Linked DNA regions of Homo sapiens: regions 1 and 2 are each linked to region 3. Evidence: promoter capture Hi-C in 16 types of primary human blood cells and fetal thymus (Javierre and others, 2016). All regions are on one chromosome and are shown on one strand. Each heading gives the region's core, a stretch centred on a gene start or on the middle of the fragment in contact. The rest is flanking DNA. Distances are from core to core; before and after follow the strand shown.

What was found. Contacts are between HindIII fragments. The CHiCAGO score rates a contact against its expected background, and 5 or more counts as called.
Region 1: a fragment that was not itself captured here is called in contact with the fragment with the promoter of EPHA3 in region 3 in 3 of 17 cell types (M1 macrophages, total B cells and naive B cells); the score reaches 6.5 in M1 macrophages.
Region 2: a fragment that was not itself captured here is called in contact with the fragment with the promoter of EPHA3 in region 3 in 1 of 17 cell types (M2 macrophages); the score reaches 6.2 in M2 macrophages.

What each region holds. Positions count from the first base shown.
Region 1 is chr3:87,297,209-87,299,908 of GRCh38, forward strand. No RefSeq gene overlaps it. Among named protein-coding and RNA genes, the nearest start is that of POU1F1, 22 kb to the left of the region's middle. The HindIII fragment of the contact is 163 bases long and covers 1,247-1,409 here.
Region 2 is chr3:90,129,873-90,132,830 of GRCh38, forward strand. No RefSeq gene overlaps it. Among named protein-coding and RNA genes, the nearest start is that of EPHA3, 1.0 Mb to the left of the region's middle. The HindIII fragment of the contact is 2,907 bases long and covers 68-2,958 here.
Region 3 is chr3:89,106,108-89,109,107 of GRCh38, forward strand. EPHA3 (EPH receptor A3) reads left to right here and starts at 1,514. Exons shown (of 17, transcript NM_005233.6): 1 at 1,514-1,729. The coding sequence starts at 1,642. RefSeq lists an enhancer at 1,356-1,495. The HindIII fragment of the contact is 3,372 bases long and covers 1-2,361 here.

The DNA of each region.
Region 1 (2,700 bases), core at 78-2,577, 1.8 Mb before region 3:
TGAAGCAAGAAAAGAAATATCCAAGTTATGTAGCAGAAAGGATGCAGAGAGGGGTACTGTGACCTTTGGTTCATGGCAGGCACATGGATGACTACATTAAGGGAGACAGCAAATATTCCAAGTACTAAATGTTTTCATGGCAGCACTGTGCAACTAGAGCACAGCATAAAGACATGAGCGTTTCTAGAATCCCCTCCGAAAAACGCTCAGAAACGTGACTTTATAAACTTTGCCTGTTACAAAATTTCACCTTCAGGGTGCATCTGCTTTGCCATTTCTCCCCTACTTTATTTTTCTGCCCCAGGAAAAGAACAGTAAACTGTTATCCAAAATATGTTTGGAAGGATGAGTTAAACAAAATTAAGAGCCAATTGCTGAGAGTTAATCCAGAGTGGTAAAACTTTTATTTCATTTATTCAATAAAAACAAACAAAGTTTCTAAGCAGGGATCTGTCATTCCTGGCCTCTCCCCATACAAACACTCTAGAGTTAAATTATAAGCCTTTTGTAAGCTGGCACCAATACTTCCATTCTAATTATTTTTATTTTAAATGCAGGTTTACATTTCTGTTAATTGTTTAGGTGATTTCCATGAATAAAAGAAATTAGAGAACTTGAGAGGGGAAGAGAGAGGCCTGTATTGCAGGCTACTCTGACTGTAGCATGCAGTGATCATTCACCCACAGACTCAGGAAATACAATGGAAAATTGATTAAAGGCATGTTTATTATTGATGAGTGTGCATCGCACAAATTGCGTTCAAATAGTCTTAAAAATTCTTAAAATGCTTTTATATAAAAAATTTAGAACAATTTCAAACAAAAAGTTGAATTAAAAGCAATTCTTGTACCTAAAGTCAACTCCTCATTAGAAACTTTTGCTATTACAAACGTTTTCCAGGTCTTGGATGGACACTTTTACTGCATTTTTAAATGAATTTTTAAAAAGTAAAATTCAAATTAGCTAAAGTAACTTTACGTACTTTGCATACAGTACATTACTTAACTTTCTAGATTCTCACGGTCCACTTTCATACTATGCCCACTATGTTTGCTTTTTCCTCCATTATACTGGCAATTTCTTTAATTACACCAGCAGGTGGCACTATGATACACTGAACCAGGGAAAACAAAATGAATTGTTAACATTTCGCTGGGACTATTGATTGCTGTCAGGAAAATCAACTTCTAAAGTCAAGTCATATTTTAATATTTTTCTTTATTAAAACCTGCAAATAAAAAGTTAAAGCTTGACTTCTGGGTACTTTTATGAATTATACAGAGATGATGAAAGGTATATATCTGTTTCTTCAGAAAATTTGGAGCTATGCAAAAGAGGAGCACCCAGAATACACATTGAGTGTGTTTCCAGGGCAAATCTGCCTAAGATAAAGGCAGATATTTATGAAAAGCTTTAAAGTGGCATTTGCTTAGAAGGTTCCAAATGTACTTATTTATTAATAAAAAAAATTATACTCCATAATGAAACTGTTTAAAATCAACTCTGAATCATCAGTAAATGATAATTATTTGTTTCAATTTTCAAGAAAAATGTAACAACTATTTATTTTATTGTTTTATCTAATCTTACCACTGAAACCATCAATACATGAACGATTATAATATTTTTAAAACAAAGTTATGCTGTACTGCAAAGTATTTTCAAAATTTGCAGTACCAAAGATCACATTATATATGTTTGCTAGCATAAGTTTTGCTGAATATCAGAAAGTGTTTAAGGAAAATCTACTCTACTGAGGGAATATTGCTTTATTTACTTTATAAACTTGTATCTCTACGTACAATTGAAATAAGATATATGTTTTTAGTTTAATATATTCTCACCAACACCCTAGAACAACACACTAGGAAAACTCTTTAGGCAGCCAAATCTAGGCCACCACTCATTTTGTAAATAAAGTTTTACTGGAACGTAGCTATGTATGTTCATTTGTGTATTGTCTATGAATGTTTCACACCAACAGCTGAGTTGAACAACTGTGTTATAGATGGGCTGGCCCACACAATCCAAAATACTTATCTGCCCTTTACAAAACGGTTTGCCAACCTAATTCTTTTTTTTTTTTTTTTTTGAAACGGAGTCTCGCTCTGTCGCCCAGGCTGGAGTGCAGTGGCGCGATCTCAGCTCACTGCCAGCTCCGCCTCCTGGGTTCACGCCATTCTCCTCCTGCCTCAGCCTCCTGAGTAGCTGGGACTACAGGCGCCCGCCACCACGCCCGGCTAATTGCTTTTGTATTTTTAGTTAGAGACGGGGTTTCACCGTGTTAGCCAGGATGGTTTGGATCTCCTGACCTCGTGATCCGCCCGCCTCAGCCTCCCAAAGTGCTGGGATCACAGGCGTGAGCCACCGCACCCGGCTTGCCAACCTAATTCTAAAATACAAGTTTGATTTATTTTTTTTCCTTTCAAATTACGTAAAGAAATTGCATGAATAAAAAGTACAATAATAATCTAATATATGCTTGTGATTGCTCTCTACCAATTGTTATACAAATAATTAAATGAAACATCAAAATTGATTAATTAATACTGAATTCTTTAGACTTCAAATAATTTTGGATGGATATCCCATGAGACACAGGGGATACAAATAGTTATAACACTCTGTTACTCATATGCAGGAGCTTATAGTGTTTTTGCAGAGGTAATATACTTAAAAAAGAGAACTGCTAATACAAAC
Region 2 (2,958 bases), core at 271-2,770, 1.0 Mb after region 3:
GTCCATATAGATATCATTGGATGACGTAATTGATTTGGACTTGCAATTTAAAAAAAAATCCTTTGAAAGCTTCTATGGGATTAGAATAATTTTTTTCATTTTTCTCCACAGATGCAGCATAAAATATACCAGAAACCTAAACCACCGAATCTTTCACATCTGTTTTTCCTACTTTAAACATCAAAGACTTCAATTTTTTTTTTCTTTTTCGTTTCTGTTCTCTGTATAATACTGTAAAGAGCAGTGTGTAAATGTCATTGACTAAGGTTGATAAAGTAAGCACTGATAATAAACTTTTCTGTATTCTCAGAATTCATATTTTAATTTTTCATACAACTAATGAAACAACAACTAATGGAACAACATTTTATAAGAAATAAATATCTACAAGATAAATTTTTAAATATTTTAAAAAATATTAATTTCGAAGATTTTAAATCTAGCAGAAAGGTAGAAAAATAATAAGTTTCATATACCCATTGTGATGGTTAATTTTATGTGTGAACTTGGCTGGGCCACAGTGTCTAGATATGTGGTCAAACATTATTCTGGATGTTTCTGTAAGCAAGTTTTTGGATGAGATTAATGCTTAAATCCATGAACTTTGAGTAAAGCAGATTGTCCTCCATGATGTGGGTGGGCCTCATACAATCATTTGAAAACTTGAAATGAACAAAAGACTGAGCTTTCCCCAGCAAATGGCCTTCAGACTTCACCTGAACACTGGCCCTTCTCTGGTCCACCCCGCGTATTTTGGACTGGCTGGTAAAGTCTCCATAATCATTTTAGGCAATTCTTTAAAACAAAATTATCTTAATATAAATCTCTCTCTCTCTCAGTCTATATATATATATACACACACACACACATAAATATGTGTATATATATGTACATATATATACACACACATAGATATGTGTATATATACACACACGTATGTGTGCATATGTGTATATATGTATATATAGGTGTATATATACGTATATATGTATATATAGGTGTATATATACGTATATATGTATATATACACACATACATTCGTTTGGTTCTGTTTCTCTGGAGAACCCTGAGTAATACATTCATCATCACAATTAACAACTGGCAATTACTATATTATTTAATCTATTTTTGTGTTATAATTTGGAGTAAATATAGACATCATGATATTTAAGCCCTAAATACAACACCACATCACTATTTGTAATCCTTAAAGATAATGTTTTCCTGTATAAGAAAACACCATTATTGCACTTAACAAACTTAATTTTTTGTACCATTTAATACTCATTTCATCTTGAAATTCTCTCAAAATTCAAAAGAAGTCTTGAAGCCAATTAGAACAAACATTGTGCTGGAGTGTGATGCAACATAATACTTTATAGGTGATGCTATGTACCTCATACTGCATCACAATAAGACATACATCACATCTGCAATATTAGTGATGCTAACATTGGATTCTCAGTTGATGGGGTGACAGCTTTATCCCTTCTCTATAAAAGTATATCTTTTTCCCTTGGTGACCAACAAGTAATATTTGTGATGATATTTTTACATCTCATGAATATCTGTAGCAATCTTTCACCTAATAGTATTTATCACTTGTTAATGATTATTGCCACAATCAAATATTTTATTAGAAGTTGCAAACAAAGTTAGCAAAATATATAATAATAATTTATTATAGAATTACAAAAGGGCCAGTTTTACTCCCCATATCTTCCTAATTTGTTCAACTCTAAACACACTGGCATGAAATTTTAAGATGTCATAGCTAGGGAATTACTCTAGGATAAAACAGAACCTCCTTTAAGATTTAGTTTGTGTAGTATGAAGAAAGTCTAGTAATAAGAATATTGATGTTCAGAATTCCCAACCCCCATATCACATTTTTTTAAATTACTAAGATACATTATATGAAATTTTCTGATTTAACGAGGAACGGATAATGGATAAATTATGCTTGGCAGTGCAAACCAAAGATCTAATAGCTTGAATTATTTTTACAAAGACCTCATCAAATGACATTTAATGTATGTAACCAGCTAACTTAACACTGTTTTTACTTATTGTCATGCATTTTTGCAGAATTTTGTAAAGTTTTAACCTTTTCTTTTCCCATGTGTTTCTCATATTCACTTATAATCAGAGGCTCTAAAACTCTGAGTTTTACTTCTTTGGTGTTAGATTTTCTTCACCTTTTTCCTACCACTGCATATCTTCTGCATATGTAAATTTACTTTCAACGTTACTATGTCTGTGAAGAAGGAACACCCATTGAGCAAGAATGGAAAATATATTAAACATAAGGGATATAGGGAATTTAGAAATTAACATTCTGATAGAGACAGAAGATGCTGGAGCAATACTGGAAAAAAGCCAGTTCTGTCAAAGTTTTTGGTCTGCACTAGTAGATGGTAGAGGTTTAACTAAGATCCCAATAGACGTTTGAACTCAGGATACTTATTCAAACTCAATGTGAACCCTTTGAGGCTGACTCATTGCTAATATTTTTCCATTTCAGGGTAAGATTTCCCACTGACACTAACCAACACAACCTCAATGTGGGTAAGTGGAATAGGAAGTTCCAGATCACTGAACTCTTGTAAAATGACTTATTTATTGTTTTTACTTAATTCCTCAGACATGCTTTGTGGGTTTTTTATTATTATTATTAGATTTTTTAAGTTCTATTTTCCATCCAGTGGCCCTGATCTTCTTAGAAAAATCCTGAACAACAGGGACAGCTGTTAAAAGAATGAGCTCACTAATTATTCTCATATTGGAAAAATAAATAGTGTAAAAAAAGTAAAAAGTAACTTACCTTATTGTTTATTTCTTAAGGGATAGTGTAGAAAATGTCCACTCTTGACTTAATTACAATAAAATAAACAGGATTCAATTTGTGTGCTTTTGTTGACAAATTTTCTAAGAGTAGAACTGTTCCAAATTAAAATA
Region 3 (3,000 bases), core at 264-2,763:
TATTATTTTCAATTCTGACAGACTTGGCACTTGAGGATTGCGCAGCCTCTGGTGACACAATGTGGAAAGAAGTTAGAGACACAAAGTAACATGGCATACACAGAAAAGTGAGAAGGATCTCTCTTTTCCCCTGGCTGCTTCTATCCACCCCAATTCCCCACCCCAGTCATCAAACTATTATCTGGCACCATTAACTTAAATTCAAGTGAAAATTGTGTTCTCTAACTAAAAACATTGAGTTTGTGGACTGAATACATTATTAGCAAGGGCTTTTCAAACTTTCATTTAAGTTTCATTATCAAGAGCTCTAAAATTGATCACTGATCTTAAGATTATCAACATACCTTTATTTTCTGAAGTTGTGAGAGGAATATAATAATCTTGTTTTCTTTTTAGTATAAGAAGAGATAGATGGGCGGAAGGATATCTGAGTAACCATTTTCTGGGAGATATTTTAAAGATAAGTGATGCTGGTTATTAAAATATAAATTACAAAATTGTTTGGCTGAACTAGATTGCAATAGGTTGTTCAGCAATGGGATTGGAAATAACAGAGACCATTGATAGTCATGGTGTAAAATAAGTGAGAAAGTACGAGGACATTATTATTTAGCTTTTGGATTTGGAATGTTAAAGAATAAGAATACCCCAATATTATTAGACTATCAGTGGTTGAAAGTTGAATGGAGGAGCTGTGAATTATGCATTGTTTCTCTTGCAGAACCCAGAGATCCTAATGTGAGATGGTGAGGGAGGGGGATATGTATTATTAAGAAATTTAGGTTTGATCTGTATTACTTTTACAACACAGAACGAGAAAAGAATGTAGACCTCCGGCTGGGGTTAGACTTGCTCCCTTCCGTAAGATGATGAAGGTCAACTTCCCTGTTTGAAAAAAAACAAAGTATGCTCTATGTGCGCGGAAAATCACTGTGCCAGATCTAGTAAAAAGCCACGATACCATTGGGTGTGGAAATGCAGAGACCCTCTGATTCAGGCTGTGTATTAGTGTCTTTCTGAATCACAAAGAACTCATGGAGAGTTATGATCACATTGAACACAGTAAAGGAATAACTATAATCATTTTTTTCAATTATACAAACATGATTGACTTTTTAACGAAAGACTGCTATTCTTTCAAAACACACGTTTCTCTCGCATTTCAGTTCCTTTTGCACTCACATTGCCATATGATACTCCTATCAAGGCTGTGATTTCTTCGGTGAATTAAGCAACAGAGCATGGATAGCAAACAATAAAACAGCTACTTTTCATGCAACACAAAAGAGGGAGCATTTTTCTCAGCACCGCGGCCTCATCACATCTTCTGTGTTTCCTGTCCCATGGGCGACGCCCCCACTCCCACCCGGTCTCCTTCCCGAGCAGCTCTGGGCTGCAGAGCCAGCTGCGTGCCATCCCGCTCTGCTTCAGCGCACGCTGAAGACGGCACTAGGACCCAGGGAAGTCCCCGAGCGGGGTTCGCGGAAAGGCAGCCAGACTCCTCCTTATCTCCAGTGTCAAACTTGACATCAGCCTGCGAGCGGAGCATGGTAACTTCTCCAGCAATCAGAGCGCTCCCCCTCACATCAGTGGCATGCTTCATGGAGATATGCTCCTCTCACTGCCCTCTGCACCAGCAACATGGATTGTCAGCTCTCCATCCTCCTCCTTCTCAGCTGCTCTGTTCTCGACAGCTTCGGGGAACTGATTCCGCAGCCTTCCAATGAAGGTAAGCCAGGTACCGCGACGCACGGAGCTCTGCCCCGCGGGGCTCACGCTCTTCAAAGCACGTTCTCACCGAAGCCTTGCACGTCGGGAAGGTGCCTCCGAATAGAGCAGTTTGCTCTGAGAGTGAAGGAAAGATGTGCCTTTTTTTTTTCCAACTGTCTTCTAAAACACTTCAGGAGATAATTTTAGATGGTCTAAACTTTGAAAATGTGTTTTTAATCTGACACCATTTCGAGCAATTACCTTGTTTGCCAATTTGAGCAGAAAGAAAGAAAGAAAATCCTCCAGCGTTGCAACCCAGTTATGTTAATTGCCAAATAGCCAAGGCAGTATTTTATTTTCTAATTATGACCATGTGGTACTCCGAGAAGTTTGAAAGAAAATTCAGCCTTCCTCTCTAGACTCTTTAGTATGTTTAAAGGTAATGACAGGTTGTTCCTACTTGGGATCATGGCATTTATGAATGGACTAAAGGGAAATCAGAGTTTGTCGAAGCGGAGGTGCGTGTTTATGGTGCAAGGGCTGTGTTGAAGTTGTGTGTATCCCGCCAGGCAATGGTTTGCTCTATGGTACAGGTTCTAAAGAGCAGCATATGCCACATTAACGTAAGTAATATTTGCAAGAATTACAATAAGCTTAGGTTGGATTCTCTTTGTTTAAAGGCTTATATACAAATAGGAGAATGTATTTAATGAATAGTGGATAGCTCCTGGGAAGATATAGTAAATAACTGAATAGTAGATTAAGAGAGAATGTTCATATGCAGCAAATGGCATTTCCTTGATGTTGTGTTATTTATTATCCTTGTAATGAGCATTAATTCCTTTTCAGTGGGTTAAAGTGCAAACCTAATGTTAAGGACACCAATGTGTTCTATAAGATTGTGTACTTAATACATACATTTTCTTTCTCCTGTATTCCTTTTGTGATCTATTCTTGTGAATACAGTCACTAACTCGTAAAACAAACTTCTCTAAATAATTGATTAGTGTAAAGCCACACTTACAACATTAATTTCCTCTTAGTGATTTTGAACTTATAACAGTAACATTTAGCAATTTATTTTGCAAGTTAACAATACCGAGCAACTGATGTGCAAACATCATGTTATATACATCACTCCTTAGAAAATATATTGTCAAGCCAATACTGTTGTATATGTACCTTAATTTTAAAAACACGAGTAAAAACAAAATACTTAGAAAGTTTTTTATTAAATGTAATAACTGCCTGATACTCGGTGACCTACTTTCACTGCTAATAGAGCAGTAA